6 separate regions of the Homo sapiens genome follow, and regions 1, 2, 3, 4 and 6 are each linked to region 5. Evidence: promoter capture Hi-C in 16 types of primary human blood cells and fetal thymus (Javierre and others, 2016). All regions are on one chromosome and are shown on one strand. Each heading gives the region's core, a stretch centred on a gene start or on the middle of the fragment in contact. The rest is flanking DNA. Distances are from core to core; before and after follow the strand shown.

Region 1 (2,736 bases), core at 96-2,595, 300 kb before region 5:
GCAGTGCCCATCAGAAGGCTGCCCTCCAGCTTCCATTCCAGACCTTCCTTGGAGCAGCCGGGGTTTAATTCAATATGGAATCCCAGGAGCTCGGGGCAGGTGTGGAAAGGGCTATCTGGTGTTTCCTTACCAGAGACCCAGGGATGTAGACTCCTCATCAGGCGACTTCAGCACAGAGGTGAAGAGACAGCCATTATTGATAGGGGACATGCTCTCTGGGAAAAAAATCTATCCAAATAACTCTTCAGCTGGCATTTACATCCTCCCACAAATATTAATAACGACTTGTCAAATCTGTTCACAACTTCGGAATTTCCGATTTTTCAACCTTTGGCAAAATAAAAACCATTTAACAGCCTGGACCACTAGGGGGCGCTATGCAGAAAGTAAGGCCCTGCAGCCGGTCTCTGTTCTCCCTTGATTCACCCAACTGCGGGAGGAACAGGAACAAAGAGATAACCTCCGCCGCTGCGTCTTTTTTACCCCTCCCAAAGAGCTTTCCTCTTGTTTCTGAATCTTGTTTTGAAACTACACTCCACACCACTTGATAGAAACAAAAGTGAAAAATAAGACTAGACACAAACGTGATGTACCAATAGGCTTCCCAGTATTCCTGAGCTATATATTATGCATAGTAATTTCCTTTGAGATCCTAAGCTTGAGTATAGCTTAGGATTCTCCACATTTTGAGTATAGTTAAGAAGCCACAAACATCAAAACTTATAAGCATGATTGTGTTTTCTTTTTCTGGAATTATTTATGTAGGAATGAATTCAATCAACAAACATTTAAAGAACAGCTTCTAGTAATAAGGTACTTTTTAGGCAACGAGGGAAATATAGGAGTAAAGGTAATACGGCTTTGCCGTACACCAACTAGAACTTTCTTTTAACTTCATTTTCTATATGGAATTTTCTATACAGAATTGGGCACTAATTTATCTCCTTATGACAATAGTTGCCCTCAAACCTCGATTCTAACATGATTGTGCATCCTGTGTTGAATGTCAGAATATTACTTTTCTAAATTTTAAAACGTTCATAGTCTATATTTTTGGGGGTTATTATGTTACAGCCTTTGAAGATGGGAAACCTCACTGGACAGAAATAAGTTATGCTGTTCTTTGCCAATGCTTGTTTCAGGCATGTCCCTCTCGTGAAGGGGAAGGTGCCTATACATCTTGATGTTCCCACTAGAAGCAAGATCCCACACTATCCTGGCACTTTGGAAAAGAATATGCTAATATTTTCAATGCATAAGAAACCATTTTCTTGTCACTTTTATTTTTCCTTGCTTTAATTGTTTTATCGAAATTAAATGGAGCACTAGTTCAGTAAGCATATATATTATGGTCAATTACTTTACAAACCTCTTTTGAGGAATGAACTACAGGGAGGAAGGAAAAAGATCAAAGTTGAGGCCAGGCGCGGTGGCTCACGCCTGTAATCCCAGCACTTTGGGAGGCCGAGGCAGGCGGATCACAAGGTGGGTGGATCACGAGGTCAGGAGTTCGAGACCAGCCTGGCCAACATAGTGAAACCCCGTCTCTACTAAAAATACAAAAAATTAGCCGGGTGTGGTGGCGGGCACCTGTAATCCCAGCTACTAGGGAGTCTGGAGCAGGAGAATTGCTTGAACCCAGGAGGTGGAGGTTGCGGTGAGCCAAGACCATGCCATTGCACTCCAGCCTGGGAACAGTGCAAGACTCCGTCTCAACAAAAAAAAAGAAAAAAAAAAAAAAAAAAACTTGGGAAACCTTAGAGGCAATTAGCTCAAAGCATAAAAGGAGGTCCAGTGCTGGACTCCTCAATTTTGAAAGAGGAGAAGACGTTTGTTAGGAAGACCCCTAAGAGATGTTGGCAGTGGTCTGGCTCCTGATCTTGGTGGTGGTTACATGTATGCTTGCATTATATTTATTATGCTGTACATTTATGTTTTGCATACTTTTTTGTGTGTGCATTCTGTGTCATAGTAATGTTGGGTTTTTTTCTCCAAAAGATAGAGAAGACCCCTTAAAATACAAAGAGAAAAAAAAAGCTTGATGTGGTAGCGCATGGCTAGAGTCCCAGCTACTCAGGAGGCTGAGGCAGGAGAATCACTTGAGCCCAGGAGTTCAAGGCCGGTCTGGGCAACACAGTGACACCCCCCATCTCTGAAAAAAAATTAGAATTAAAATTGTTTAAATGCAAAGAAAAACTTTAATTTCTTTATCGAAGGATTCCTGACAGTTAACTTGAGGTTTTCTGGTAGCTAGATTGCCACTGTCCTTTGCTTTCAAAACAGCCCCAGGATCACTTTCCTGTTCTTTCAAGTTACCTCCTCTCTGGGTTGCTGGGCAGGTAACATTCCCTTCATTAGTATATATCAAAAAAAGTATAGTCATGCATAGCTTAATGATGGGGATGCATTCTGAGAAATGCATCGTTAGTTGATTTCATCGTTGTACAAACATCATAGAGTTCTTACACAAACCTAAATGATATAATCTACTATACATCTAGGCTATATGTTGTAGTCTACTGTTCTCGGGCTGTAAACCTGTACAGTATGTTACTATACTGAATGTTGTAGTTAATTGTAAGACAATGCCAAGTATTTGTGTATCTAAACATATCTAAACATAGAAAAGGTACAGTACAACTATGGTATGATAATGTTACAGGACCACCAGTTTATATGCAGTCCATTGTTGACCAAAATGTACATGGCGCATGACACTACTGGGGCTTGATTTAA
Region 2 (2,700 bases), core at 33-2,532, 290 kb before region 5:
CATTATAACAATGTAGTTTAGATATGAGTAATGCTGGCCAATTGGGCACATGCAAGTTTGGTTTCCTGTGGAATACTACCTATTTCAGTATGCCTCTCCTTATTTTCTGGATTCTTAAGTTGCTATAGTTTTTCCCAAGGATATATACATATACATGGATGTTTATACTAGGTTCTTTTATAAAAGAGCTAGTGACATGGAATAGTCATTCTTTAAAATATAACAAAAATAACTGGTAAATGTGAAAATTAGACTTGGATACCTATATATCAAAAGCTACCCTTGAGTACTTTCAGAGACCCAATAGGAAAAAAAAGCTCGTATAAGTGATTATTGCCTTCACATTAGCACCCAGTTTTTCAAAATGGCTGGTACTTGCCAATATGCAAACAGAAGCATAATGTTTTACTAGGAGAATAGATGTTATAAAGATGTTGAAAAATGAACACCTTGAATTCATTAATCTTAAAAACATTGCAGAAAGGGAGCAAAAAACTATGCCTCTGTCTCCTCTCACGTGCTAAGAAACAAGAATGATATTAAAAAATTAGAGAACTGAATAAGCTTACCTTAGCCACAATAGCAAAGTAAAGGAGGAGGAATAACTGAAGAGATCATAGCAACAGAGCCATTGCTGGTTGCCTGTGTTAGCTGTGAAGAGAACATTGGCAAATTAAATATCCAGGCCTCTGTAAAACCACTATCTAAGCTTCCTCCATTTATCTAAGCGAGGCTATCATCACCACCCACTTCTTCTGTTGCCTACTGAACTGCTAAGAAATAATACATTTTGCAGATTTTAGTTTTATTGTCTTTATTTTGTTCTTTCTTATTTCCCCCACTTCAGGGGTCTTTTAGGAGATATTTCACAACTATAGATAAAATTTCAGAGCTGGATGGAAGCCTAACAATACTTAACTTTTTTTACTCCAACTTGCATCTAGTTATTGCACTTACGTGTTTCCTTGTTGTTCAGCGTGTTGTTGATTTTTGAACAATACTGTTTACTTCCTTGATTAGCTCTCTGATTTATAGCTTAGGTAAAGCTCACACATGTCCTGGCCACAGATATCACACAATATTTTATTTTGGCACCAGGTTGACATTACACACTGTTCGTTGTAGTTCCATTTCAGAGAACAGTCCACCCCCATCTACACCACATGCCTGGCATTGATCTAGGTGAAGCTACATAGCCACAAAGGGTGTTCATTATGGACACCATGACGGAATGCCATGACACACAAGTGCAGAACCACTGATCTTCTCAAACTCCTCATTTGACATATAATACAAATGAGTCATAAAGAGTAGACATGATCTCCTTAAGTCAGTGGCAGGTGTGGGATAGGAATCCAAGTTTCTCACTTTCCAGTGTCCTTTTCATTGCTTCCATGCTAAAGAGGGAAACTCAAAAAAGCAGTTATAGTTCCAAGCACTGAATCATAATCCTGCACAATGGGAAGCTAACAGCGTCTTGTTTGCTGAAGCCCTGTGTAACTTTCTCAGGCTTAAAAACACAAGGAAGCATAGGTGTTGCGGGAAATTATATGACTGACCTACCACCAATAGATAAGGTATGTTGTGCAAATCTTCTAGGGAGGGATTTTTTAATTTGCAGTGATCAGTTGATTTGCTCCTGCCTGAGCATTTTATTTAGGATTCTATTCTTAGACTGTGGAATGTAACTTCTCTGTATGAAACTACCTGACCCATATGAGATTTTACTTAAGACTTTGGCCATATCAGCACTATTTTAACTGGAATGAGTCTCCTAGTAGCTCGTATCCAAACCATCCACCTTTGGCCACACAGATGAATGGGCATTCTACCTGAAGGCCACCTGAAGAGCAGAACAAGCTTTTGTTCCCAGTCCCACCAGTGACTTATGATACCTTAGCAAAGCCTTCTTCCCCATATTTTCTTCCCCCTAAAACTGTCCCCACAGGTGGTATTTTCACTGGAAGGGAGTGGTGAGTAACTTGTTTTTATGTTTGCAAGGGTAAAATAATAAATGTTTTAATGCTATTATTAAATGTCTAATTTTAAAATAAGAAGCCTCCTAGAAATTTGTCTTACAAGCTCTCTGGAACTCTCTGGAACCCTCAGGTTTACATTCTGTATCTGTCTTGCGCATGTCTTTCAGATAGAATACCTTCCATTTCCTGTCAAACTCATGTTAAGCTTTCACAATCTAGCTCATTCATTGACTACTCTTCAGTTTTTGTTTTCCTCATCCTCTCATGAAAACTTAGTATTCTGTCCCCTTGTGTCACTTTATTCAGAGATTTATTCTAACACTCACCAGTTTCAATCGCAATGAATTGTTTATATGTCAGCCTTTCCCCTTCCCCCCAAGAGCTTCTCTGGGCTGTCTTCTCCTTAAAACAAAGAACTGTATAGTTGGCTCTTGAACAATGTTGGTTTGAACTGTGCAGGTCCACTTATACACAGGTTTTTTTTTTTTTTTTCAAACAAATGCAGATAAAAAATACAATATTGGTTGGATGCAAAACTGCATATATGGAGGGCCAACTTTTCATATATGTGGGTTCTTCAGGGCTGAGTGCGTAGGTTTTGGTATACTAGGGGGTACTAGAATGAATCCCTCATATATACTAATTGCATTCTATTCATCTTTATAAGACCCATAGAAGGCCTTTACTGTATTATTTCAAAGTATGAATAACATGAGCATCA
Region 3 (2,788 bases), core at 172-2,671, 470 kb before region 5:
TGCTGTCAAGGAGCACATCAGTTTACTGCCTCCTCCTCATTTATCGGTAAAGGTGAAACGGAGAGAGTTTGGATAACAAAAAGGAGAAATCAGATTTTTGGGAACCCAGGGTCTGGATCCTTGTGGACTGCCTGGATGCTGTGGGTAGTGGGGCAGATGGGCAAGTCACTGCTTGAAATATTTGTGTGTCTATTTGAAGAGCTTCCTCAGGGACTCAGTGCCTACAATCGACTCTCATCCTGAAATAGGATCCTTGGGCTAAATTTTTATCTTACATAGGCATTTTTTTTTTTAAGATTCCTTTTGATGCTGACTTTCCTAATTCACAAACCAAATTGTTCCTATATGGGAAGCAGTAGTCTCTGCCTGCTCCTCCGCTGTGAGATGCAGAGGCAGCAGGGAGCCCTGAGTCACCAGTAATTGTCTCACTATTACAGAATTGTCACAGGACATTTTCCTTTAGGGCTGTGAAATATAAAGGAAAGAAATTAAAACTAAACTATTGTTGAAGTGTAATGAGTGAGGGGTGCTGAGTGTTTAATGGCACAGTGAGGCTGGATTTGCCCTGGGGAGTATTGGTTTCTCTTCACCAACCCAGGTCACTTAGCTATTGGCCTTTTGAGCAATGAATCCCCACGATCCAAGCTTCACTCATAAAGCAAGAAGTGCTAGAAGAATTAGCATCATTTAGCATTTATTGAGTGCCTAATAGCAAAAAAAAAGTTTTAAAATATTCCAATAGAAAAACAGTTATGTTTTATGTATCTTTTTCTTTCTTTGAGAGATTTCTAATCCCATTTTTAATGGATTGCCTTCAGTATGTACCCTGTTCCAGATCCCCAGAATATCTTCTGGGCCCAGGACTTGACACTCCCTTTCCGTGGGAACCCAGTAGCTGGAGGCATCTGGCAGAAATGCCCCAGAAGGCTTTCACTCTGTGGAACACATTGCCAAATTATTTTTAAATTCGAGTTGAGCAGCTGGGGCCATTCAGTCCTATGTAGGTACTGCTTGCTGCCCCCTGCCTGAGTCCTGGCAGGCAGGGAGAATTTAGCTTTGCAAGGTTTCATTTGGGGATCAGGTGACAAAGCAGGAGCATGCCTTCAGGGACTTTGGGTCCCCACCACTACTGAGTAAGAAGCTCACCCTGAGAGACAGGCCAAAGGTGCGAGGGGTTGATTCCCAGCGCTATCTGTGCCTTCTTCTCATTACCCTGGTATATTATTTTGGCACAACTGACTGTGGCTAATTCCAACCCACCTCCTAAATGATGGAGAGATGGGCAAAGAAGTAGGCAAGGAAACAGAGCTCAAAATTGTGCTAGAGTTGAGGCACCCTGGTTTCCTCTCTACTCCAGAAAAAACTAAGGAATAAAGGTGAGGAATAATTATAACTGCCTTTATGGGTTGGCATAATGGTAGGGGCAGGGGTAAGACAGGGATGAGGAGCAATGAGGTGATAGTCTAAAGGAAGGTTCTTCACAGCTGGAGCTATCCATTCCTGGAGGATCCTAGAGTCAAGTGAAGCCAGTATCATTTGAAGGAAAATATAGTATAGTGGTCCAGCATGGTTGTTTGTATCAGTTAACTACTAGTATGTAACAAACCATCCCCAAACTTAGTTGCTTAAACAACAAACATTTATGATTTTTCATGAGTCTATGGGTTTCTCTGGGTGGTTCTGCAGATCTTGGCTGGGCTTGCTCATGCATCTGTGATCAGCTGAGAATGTGGCTGTGTTGGTTGGTCTAGGATAGCCTTGGCTAGGATGACTTGGCTCTGGTCCATGTTGTTTCTTATCTTCCAGCAGGCTAGCCTGAGGTAGTTCTCATATTGGTGACAGGGTTCTAAGCACAGATAGAGGAAGGAACAGAAAATTGGACCAGTTTTGCTCTCAAGTTATTACAGTGTTCTACAGTCAATCTACACGGGTTCAACTAGCAGCTCCATCACTTTCAAGTTCACCAGTGTGAACTTGACCAAGTTACTGCATGTCTGTGTGTGTCAGTGTCCTCCCTTATAAAATGAGGATTTGAGTAATGTCGACCTCATAGAGCTATTGTGGGAGTTAAAGAATGTAAATTGGTCAGAATATTTCATAGTAAGCATTCAATTCATGCTGGATGCTACCAAGGAAAATATCTCAAGGGCATATTTATACTGTAAGGAATTTTCTTTCCCTTGTAGCTGAAGAATTGAAAGCTTCTATTCAAAAAGAGCCACCCATGAGATCAGTCATTTGAAAGTTCAGCTAATTGATTGATTGATGATTGTATGAGGAATTAAGAGAGAATGAAGGCTGATTTCTGAAGTCCCTACTACTTACATTGCATCTATGTGAAGGACTCTGCCATTAGTATCCATTGTCACAACTCCTTTGTAAATAGACACACTCTTAAGAGATACGGTCACATACACCTCACCCTCACACACATACATGAATGCTGTGACAGGAACTGCACATGAGGAAGCAGGGCTGGCCTTAGTCTCCACTGCCATGATGTCTACAACGAGTGGTGATGCTGTCATCCTCTGAAGAGAACTAGGGCCATGGTACTTTTCCTTTGCTATCAGTTCTATCAGTTTTTGTGGTGGTTTTGTGCTCGGTTGATGAGTCGTATGACTGGTCTTGGCTGCCTCCTTCTATAGGGTCCTTTTAGCCCCCTTAGTAGGTTCAACCTTCTCCAGGGTTCTAGAAATTTTTTTGTCTGCAGATAAAGGGACAATAGCAAGAGTTCTAAACTTAGGGTCATTGATTCAAAATTGAGTCCCATTTTGCTATTTCCTCT
Region 4 (2,862 bases), core at 299-2,798, 380 kb before region 5:
TTTCACGTTGAATAGGCTGAGGGGGAGGAAGAAGAGGAGGGGTTGGTTCCGCTGTCTCAGGGTTAGCAGAGGTGGAAGAAAATCCATGTATAAGTGCATCCATGCAGTTAAAATCCATGTTGTTCAAGGGTCAACTATGCAGAAATTCCTCCCTAAGATAGTTCCTTATGGCAAATCCTATTATATGCCAATTCAAATCTGCTATGTTTTTCCCAATTCTGAGAATTTCAGATGCACTCATTCTGAGTTGCAAAAGGTCTTGAATACTAGAATGGAGGGCTAAACACAGAAAACAATGCCTTTGAGTATGCATACTGTCAGGAGCAAAGCAAAAAGCATCCTGTTGTAATTGCAAGGGAGGGAGAGTCTGGAAAGTTTATAATGAGTCAGGAAGGCAATTAGAAATTAAGTGATTATGTGGTTTAGTACTAGTTTAAGATGGAAATATGTCATCAGTCTTCTTTTTTGTTTAATGAGTTGTCTTTACGGTTTTTTATTAGTGAAAAATTTTATATAATAGGTGTTTATAGATTCCTTCTTGACCTCAGCCCTCCAATCCTGTTTTCCCATAACATCTTAGGTGCTTCAACCATAAATTCTTCTGCAATATTTTTGGGAATATTTCTCAAAATTGGGAACTGATTATTATATTATATATCTTTAAATAGAAGCCTGCCCACCATTCCCAAATAATATACTTTCTTTTTTTTGTTTGTTTGTTTTGAGACAGAGTCTCACTGTGTTGCCCAGGCTGGAGTACAGTGGCATGATCTTGGCTCACTGCAACCTTGGCCTCCCGGGATCAAATGATTCTTGTGCCTCAGCCTCCCAAGTAGCTGGAATTACAGGTGTGTGCCACCAGGACCAGCTAGTTTTTACATTTTTAGCAGAGATGGGGTTTCACCATGTTGGCCAGGTTAGTCTCGAACTCCTGACCTCAAGTGATCTGCCCACCTCAGCCTCCCAAAGTGCTGGGATTTACAGGTGTGAGCCACTGAGCCCAGCCCCAAATAATATCCTTTCATTCTGTAGAGGAGACTGCTGATACTAGGCTGCCATTACTCAGCCTATCAAATGCAGTTTGACCAAATGCTGTGCATTATATTTATTCAAATCTCTAATTCAGTATAAACAATGATATTCACTGGGTTTGAAATGTCTATTTAAAGAGAGAGCCTTAGTTTGTTTTTATACTTATCTTGCTCATATTAGGAGTCAAGGGAAAGAAAGATGGAGGATTAAGACCTTCAGATTATAAGCTTTTCATTATTGGAGGGACTGGGCTGGAGAAGATGATTATCTGGTAATTTTAGGAAAAGTTTCTTTTAACCTGAATTATACAGATAATTGCTTCAGTTCCCTTTGTAAACCAAGACATAGTAAATCTAACTGTTTCTCTTTAAAGAATAAATAGGACAAAAAGTTCCTTAACGGCTTTAAGACCTTTAATACTTTGTCCTCATGTGACTACTGAGCCGTAACAGAGTCGATTCAATACTCTAGGTCTTTTTTAGTCCATGCTGGTCACTACCCACCAAAAGATTTCGTATTGACTGCTGCAGGGATCTGAACAAGTTGGTCTGGCTGCAGCCTAGTGATTATAGCTATGTAGACAGGGCACAGTGGGGTGTGTGTGTGCACGTGCATACGCGTGTAGGAGGGCCAGGAAGGCAGGAAATCAGGAGCACTGGGGATGTGGCTTAGTGTGTTTCAGATTTATTTCCAGCCTCCTTAATTTAGAGATAGTAAGAGAGATTTTTTAAAACATCTAAAAGTCTGAAATACTATTAGTAAACCTGTTTGGGGGTTTTAAAAGAAGCATCAGCCTGTTTGGTTCTGAAGCTTTGGTTGTTAGTGATAATTGATTCATTTATATTCATTAGTTATGCGTTTGTCAAAGCATGATTCCTGACAGCTTAGTTATGATAAATTAAATGCAATGCTCACATAAATTCTGCACTGCTTTTCATCCATATGCTAGGACCCTGCTTGATGTGTTTTGTCACCTCTATAATGTGTGGTTGGCTTTGTAGAGATTTCATTATCAGCCCTTTCCCCTACGACTAAAGCTATTTGCATAACAAGTTTATCTGGTTCAAGTACCAGCCAGACTTCTGCTTTGTCAGGAGGCTCCATTCAGAAGTAGCCTTTTGATAAGATAAAAATAATTTTCATTTTGTCAACTTCACCTTGGTCCTAATGGATGTCACTTTTCTTTTTAAGTTCAAGCTAATTTCAGGTCTTTGGAATCAACTACAAAAATACTTACCAAGTCATTGGTCACAAGGTATTTGTGAGCTATGCTTTCTCATTTTGCCTCTATAACTTTAGTGGTTTTTTAGGAATTAAATTTAGGACCTCATCATCAGTGGTCCTTGAGCCGATTATTGAGACAATCAAGATGGATTTCTCTTGGTCAAGGGCAATTCCACCAATAGCATCACGGCTGCTCAGCTTTGGATTTAATGATGACTTGAACTACATGGTCACCTGCACATGAACTGTTCTTTCTTGAGGTGGCTGGCTTGGGTAGTATAGGGGAGAAAAAGTAATATCTTTTCATCACCTACTGTGAGGTTAATGGCTGACATTCCTATAACAAAAGACAGATTAACAAAAGAAAAGTGGAACAAATTTATTTAATGTAAGTTTTATGTGACACAGGAGCCTTCACTCAAAAACCGAGTGAAAACTACTTTTGTGGTTAGGTTTAATGAATGATGGACAGTTGTATAGAAGTATGATTGAACAAAAAAGGCATATGATCTAATGGTAATAAACTGGGGAAAACTTAGCAAGTCCTCAGATTCTTCTCAGCCTCTCTGTGTAACATTTCTTCCTTCTGATTATATGGCAGGTCAC
Region 5 (2,700 bases), core at 99-2,598:
GAGCTCCCTCGAGTCTCACGCTTCTCCAAGACTCAAATCCTGGACGGGAGCGTGGGAAGGAGCAGGTTGGCCAGGCCTCGGATGAAACCACTAAGCTCTCTCCCCTTCTCCGCTCCCAGAGCAGCCGACCTCATCTTCAGAAGCCAGATCGGGTCGGCCAAGTTGTGTGGTCGCCGCTCGCGTTTTAGAGGGGACAACTCGTTGGGGGAGAAGGGGGCGTGCGAGTGCAGGATGTGCGAGGGACCCATTGTATTTGGGTCGCAAGCAGCCCACCCGTCTTGAGTACGATATTCTCATTCCGCAGGCGCGCCCTGGGCGTGGGAGAAGGTGGGCCCGGAGGCATCGCATCCCCGACCCCTGATGGAAGTGCGGAGGGCATCCTTATACAGTCCAGATTCCGAGTCCGTTGTAGTTAGGCTAACCTCTGACGCTGCATCGGGAGATAGGTCACCCCGTCCGTCCCGGTCGCAGTGCGGTTCCCGTGAGGAAGACGGGCAGAGAGGCCGGGCGCGAACTGATTAGGGGCTCCCCCACGGCCGGCGGCCTGGAGAGTGGAGACTGTGTCCGACGGGAGGTGGGTGGGGGAGAGGAGTAGGCCGAGCTCCGGCGGCCACTCCGCAGTGCGCTCTCGCGAGCCGGGGCCGCGAGGCCTCCAACGCGGTTCCGCACCCCTAATGCCCCAGGGCGGTGAGCACCCCGCGGTTCCCCGCCCGCCTCTTCCTCCTTCCCCGCCCGCGCGCCCGGGAGAGGCGATCCCCGCGTCCGCAGTGCCGGGGCAGGACGCGCCCTGCGCCCTGGGCCAGGAGGAGGCAGGTGGCCCTCCTCGGCAGGAGGTGAGCCGCCAGGGAGGGATGGGGGTCACCCAAGCCCCTGCAAGCGCGACCCTGCCCAGAGCAAAGCACGCCCCGCGCCTGGTGAGGAACTTTTTCTTTCCAAAGGTGGCAGGAACAAGTCTGTACTGACTTTTCTCCCGCCTTCGGGATCCTCTCTCGTATGATTTGTGGTTTGTGGGACCACAACAACCAGGCTTCCTCGACCGCGCCTTTTTTCCAGTAGCTCCTGGTCTGCCAGGCTTGCGAGAGGGCGCGCTGGCTTGGCGGGGCTCCGGGCGAGAAATCACCAGCAGCGCTGGGGCTTTCGGCCCCCCACAGCCCAGCCCGGGCCTCCTGGGTGGCCTGGGGAGAAGGGGGCGGGACAGCACAGCTTCTTCCCCTCGGGTGGGCATGACGGGTCGCCTTGGGTGTCCTGCCGAGCTCAGCTTTGAGGGTATGCGCGGCGCGGGTGTTTTTCCCAGGTCCACTCTGCAAAAGTTGTGGCCTGAGGAAAACTTCCAGGTCGCCAGCAGGAACGTCACAGGAGAGCCCCGGTCGCTCGTCAGGCGGGCGGCCCTGGAGCGTGCGCGCCACCCAACGCCGCGCTGGGCGGCCGCCCGGCCCCGCCCCAGGTCACAGCCCTGCCCTCGGCCCCACCGCGGCGGGCGGGGGACACGCGGCGGGCCGGGCGCTGTCGGTCCCACGCCCCACCGGGGATCTCGCTTGGGTCCGCTGTGTGCGCGGGCGGGTGCGTGTGCGGCGAGGGTGCAGGGTGTGCAAGTAAATACAGGGGAGAGTTACACTCTTTGCCGTCTCAAAGTCCGGCGCCTGGAAGCCGAAGGCAGATTTTTCCAGAGATAACAAAGACACTTTGTCACTTTGGGCGCTGCGTCGGTGCAAATCTTTAATTGCAAGTGTGTGTGTGTGTGTGTGTGTGTATGTTGGGGGGGGCGGGAAGAGTGTCTCGAGCAACCCAAGCGCGGGTCTCCAGGCGGCAAGGCCCCCTTTGATCAGGAAAATCCAATTATTTGTGTATATACATTTCCCACATAGTGATTACTTCATTAATTGTCCCGCCTTTATCTCCTCCCTTCCCATCCCCCCTAATAATCAGTTCTTTTATCCAGACCAACAAACACACCATAGGAGCTTTGTGGATTCAAAGGATTTGCTTTCGCTTCTGAAAGAGCCGCTATTCTTTGATGATTGGGTAGCGGCAAACTTCAAAGCCATAAATCTTCCCTCTGACTGGCTGGCGGCCCAGCAAAGTCCTTATCAAATTCTTGGAGGTGATCCTGAAGCGCTCAGACCGCGCGCGGGGCGAGCGAGCGGGGCGCGGCGAGGGGCAAGGGCGGGGAGGGCCCCGGCGCTCAGAGCAGGCGCCAGGGAGGCAGGCTGGGCGGCCCTTCGTCCTCGCCTTCGGGTGTCCATGCCTCGGCGGCGGCGTCCCGCTCCGCAGCCAGGGGCCTGCAAGCCGTAGCCATGGCCGCGGTGGCCGTCCTCCGGAACGACTCGCTGCAGGCCTTTCTCCAGGTCAGGGCCGAGCCCGGAGGGGGCGGGAGAAAGGTGGAAAGGGCCGTGTCCGGATCTCTCCTGGTACTCCGTGCACCTTGAACCTCAAAGGGAACCCCGCCGATGGGTGCAGCTGGAGCCAGGCCTAGGGGTGCCCACGCCAACTTCACACCTAATCCGGTGTGGCCTTTGCTGGAGGGACGCGTGGATCCGGGATTGTTCGGAGGTGCCCGGCTGGCCGAGAACAGGACCGGAGCTCACCCTGCTGGGCCCTCCTGCTGATTTCAGCCTGGGGCGGGCCAGGGAGGAGCGCGAAGGCAGTGAGGACAAGAGAGCTTAAAAGATGGGAGGGAGAGCGGCCGGCCGGCGGGGTTGT
Region 6 (2,968 bases), core at 190-2,689, 400 kb before region 5:
TTGCCCAGGCTGATGAAGATAGTAAGCACTAGAACTGGAATATGAACCCAGGCAATCTGACTTCAGAGCCCACACTCTGCAGGCTCTCCTAGCCTTAGCTTATCTCTGTGACTGGAACCCTGATCCTGACAGATATCTGGAAAAAATCACATTCTTTGTCTCCTAGGATCTAGGCAGATCAATGCAAATGTGATCTCAAAATGACACATGTCTGGGCTATTTCAGAGATGATTCCAAAGCTGATTTAGTGGATTATTTTTTACTGGCATGATTACTATTGATTGTTATTGTGTTCTTAGATGAAATAATTGGCCTAGTATTCCATATTCCCATATCTCACAGTGTTATGATCTTCAAAACTTCAGCCATACATGCATATGCATATAGACACATATAAATGTGTGTGTATTAATGAAGTATATGTACATATGTGTGTGTATTAATGAAGTATCTGACTTTAAAAGCTAATTAATTATTTTAGATATAACAATTTACTGAATTATTTCCAAATTACTCTGAAACCAAGGTATTTCTAGGAAAATCAGCTGAAGTTCTTAAAATGGTCTTTAAATGAATCATTTCCTCTTCCAAAGAATTTGTTTTTGTTCCTAAGAGCAATTTTCCCTCACTGCATCTTCTGAATACTCATAAAATCTTCATTTTAAAATCTGAAAAGGTCATCTTATCTACCCACTTATGCCTGGGCAGGAAATCTTAGAAGATCATATTACTGTTTTTAATGACCTATGGAGGATGCCATGCCACCTATTTTGGCAGTTTATTGCCTTTCCTAATAATCTAGCTAGTCAGCAGGTACTTCCTGATGTGTGAACAAAATGTCTTCTGCTGCCTTGGCTTATTCCATTTGATGGTCATGAGACTAATGTTATCTTATTCATGGTCCTTTTCCTAAGGCCAGAAAATCACAGTATCTATAACTCAGTCGATAGTTATGGTCACATTCTAATTCCTTAAGTGCCTCCATCTTGAACAGTCCTCTGAGTCCCAATTGTTGTAATGTGGGTGAGGTGCTGTGAGCATGCCATCTGTTTGCGAGAATGGTGCCACTGATGGCTACACATTTGACACTGAAGATGGCACTGCTCATCTAAATCAAAATTTGGGACCTATAGAAGCTGGCTGCAGACACCTGCATTGACTCTCACTTTGTAAAGAGATGTGGCCATTGGATGGAAACATGAGCCTGGAGTGTCATTTGTATTGCATTTTTGTTTATTGAGGATAACTGCTATACTCATCTTTGTATAAAGCATGGAAGTAATAGGATCAAATTAAGAAAAACTACTTAGATGGAATAGCAGGGAAGTTTCCCTAATGAAAAGATCTGATAGACCATGGAATAGCCTTCCCCAGGAAGGCTGGTCTCATTGAGATGTGGTTATTACCGAGAAACCAAATAGTCCCCCACTGGATGCATCTTGGGCGATTTGCATTTTGGTTTGTGACTTTGATTTAATTGGAAAAGTATCTCACATCTGTTGTTGACTACATAAGTCTGTTTCCCAAATTCTAGTTATGTCACAGTTGCCTAGCGAACTTGTTAAAATGCAGATTCCTGGGCCCTGTTCCCAGAGGTTCTGTTTCATTAGGTCTGTGATAGTCTGGGACTCTTTGTGTTCACCAAATTTCCTGGATGATTCTATGCAAAGGGCTGTAAACTCTGTTTTGAAAAACATGGAGTTAGGGCCATTTTGGGAAGATTTCAGATCTGATAGTAAGTGTATCTGTGTATTTTGATTTGTCCCTTATCCTCATCCTAATACTCTAGTTTGCCCCATCACCAGAGTCCTCTTCTGTTTGCAGATAGGAGGAAATGTTTGGTGAAAGACCGGAGGTTGCTAAGAGGAGAGTATTTCTCCAAGGAGCCCTAACCTTACTCAAGCTGGCATTCCCTGTGCTTCCCATGAGGCAGCTTACTATAGGGTAGTGTTTTTCAAAATTCTGTGGGAATTTATTCTTAAAAAGGAGGTTCCATGATCAGAGAAGTGTGAGAAACATTGTGGAAAACAAAGGTAACCAGATGCTTTACTGCAGGATTTCCTAGAGTTTTTATCGTGATAAAATCTTCACCATTTTCTAAATTTTTGGTCACAGGATTTCTCATGGGACTACTGATTCATGGGACGCATTGAAAAACTCAGTGAGTTGAAAGCAAGAAAAATTAGTTTATAACTGCTACTTTTCACCCAAATAATAGAGTGACCTTGGATATGTCCTTTATTTTCCTCAAGTTTGTTTTCTCGTCTGTGAAATAAGAGTAATCATGCCACCTTACCTAGGTCATAGGGTCATTTTGAGGATTGAATGAAATACATTTGTGACAGTGCTTTGTAAAATATAAAGCATCATTAGTTGTCATTGGGAAACTAACTAGTTGCATACAAGTTTGGAGAGTAGAGAGAGAGCACTGGACAGTTTATATTCATCTTTGCTTAGACTTTCCTTAGATTGACCAAATGGGACTGAAAAATCTGGTCTGTTTACTTCACCAGGGTTTGTCTTAATACCATGTTAATGGTTAACTAGAGATTCTCTTTTACTACTTTCTAAATTATTCCACTGACACACTGATTTAACTAAATATTATAGTCCTTAATACCTTGTAGTCAATGCAGATCCAGGACTAGGAATTGGTGGCACATGGTGAAGGAGATGTTCAGGGCTATGAGCCAATAGGATGGGGAGGGCTAGGACTGGGAAGAACTGGAAGCTAGGATGCTGATGTGGTTATTGGGCTGTACCCCATGATGTGAGTGGTCTCAAGCGAAATTTCCTTGTCTTGAAGATTTTGGCCAAACTTGGGGTCAAATAAGTAAGAGTCATATATAAGAGATCCAGTATAGTGGGTGGCAAGAGCAGAGCAGGAGGTACCTCTATGCAGAGAAGACGTATATAAATTCAGTAGCTGTGGTGCTGTAATTCTGAGTTGTTAGTGTGGGTTGGAGCT

What was found. The method cuts DNA at HindIII sites, captures the fragments that hold promoters and counts their contacts. A CHiCAGO score of 5 or more calls a contact.
Region 1: a fragment that was not itself captured here is called in contact with the fragment with the promoter of LINC01124 in region 5 in 12 of 17 cell types (endothelial precursors, naive CD4 T cells, fetal thymus and 9 more); the score reaches 12.3 in endothelial precursors.
Region 2: a fragment that was not itself captured here is called in contact with the fragment with the promoter of LINC01124 in region 5 in 9 of 17 cell types (endothelial precursors, non-activated CD4 T cells, M2 macrophages and 6 more); the score reaches 8.8 in endothelial precursors.
Region 3: a fragment that was not itself captured here is called in contact with the fragment with the promoter of LINC01124 in region 5 in 1 of 17 cell types (megakaryocytes); the score reaches 5.1 in megakaryocytes.
Region 4: a contact is called between a fragment that was not itself captured here and the fragment with the promoter of LINC01124 in region 5, in 1 of 17 cell types (megakaryocytes). The highest score is 5.3, in megakaryocytes.
Region 6: a contact is called between a fragment that was not itself captured here and the fragment with the promoter of LINC01124 in region 5, in 1 of 17 cell types (megakaryocytes). The highest score is 6.3, in megakaryocytes.

The regions. Positions count from the first base shown.
Region 1 is chr2:170,408,866-170,411,601 of GRCh38, forward strand. The region is part of intron 22 of MYO3B (myosin IIIB); the gene reads left to right. Among named protein-coding and RNA genes, the nearest start is that of MYO3B-AS1, 59 kb to the left of the region's middle. The HindIII fragment of the contact is 1,380 bases long and covers 656-2,035 here.
Region 2 is chr2:170,427,556-170,430,255 of GRCh38, forward strand. All of the region lies in intron 22 of MYO3B (myosin IIIB), which reads left to right. Among named protein-coding and RNA genes, the nearest start is that of MYO3B-AS1, 78 kb to the left of the region's middle. The HindIII fragment of the contact is 1,151 bases long and covers 708-1,858 here.
Region 3 is chr2:170,241,543-170,244,330 of GRCh38, forward strand. All of the region lies in intron 7 of MYO3B (myosin IIIB), which reads left to right. Among named protein-coding and RNA genes, the nearest start is that of MYO3B, 65 kb to the left of the region's middle. The HindIII fragment of the contact is 1,556 bases long and covers 644-2,199 here.
Region 4 is chr2:170,337,898-170,340,759 of GRCh38, forward strand. The region is part of intron 8 of MYO3B (myosin IIIB); the gene reads left to right. MYO3B-AS1 (MYO3B antisense RNA 1) reads right to left here. Exons shown (of 4, transcript NR_110576.1): 4 at 2,620-2,862. LOC124906090 (a long non-coding RNA gene) reads right to left here and starts at 2,351. Exons shown (of 4, transcript XR_007087292.1): 1 at 2,270-2,351; 2 at 1-16. RefSeq lists an enhancer at 2,390-2,862. The HindIII fragment of the contact is 583 bases long and covers 1,258-1,840 here.
Region 5 is chr2:170,713,219-170,715,918 of GRCh38, forward strand. LINC01124 (long intergenic non-protein coding RNA 1124) reads right to left here and starts at 1,349. Exons shown (of 1, transcript NR_027433.1): 1 at 1-1,349. SP5 (Sp5 transcription factor) reads left to right here and starts at 2,119. Exons shown (of 2, transcript NM_001003845.3): 1 at 2,119-2,345. The coding sequence starts at 2,295. All of the region lies in intron 5 of ERICH2-DT (ERICH2 divergent transcript), which reads right to left. RefSeq lists a silencer at 1,436-1,485 and enhancers at 1,703-2,492, 2,493-2,700. The HindIII fragment of the contact is 7,273 bases long and covers 1-2,700 here.
Region 6 is chr2:170,315,789-170,318,756 of GRCh38, forward strand. All of the region lies in intron 7 of MYO3B (myosin IIIB), which reads left to right. Among named protein-coding and RNA genes, the nearest start is that of MYO3B-AS1, 34 kb to the right of the region's middle. The HindIII fragment of the contact is 4,137 bases long and covers 1-2,968 here.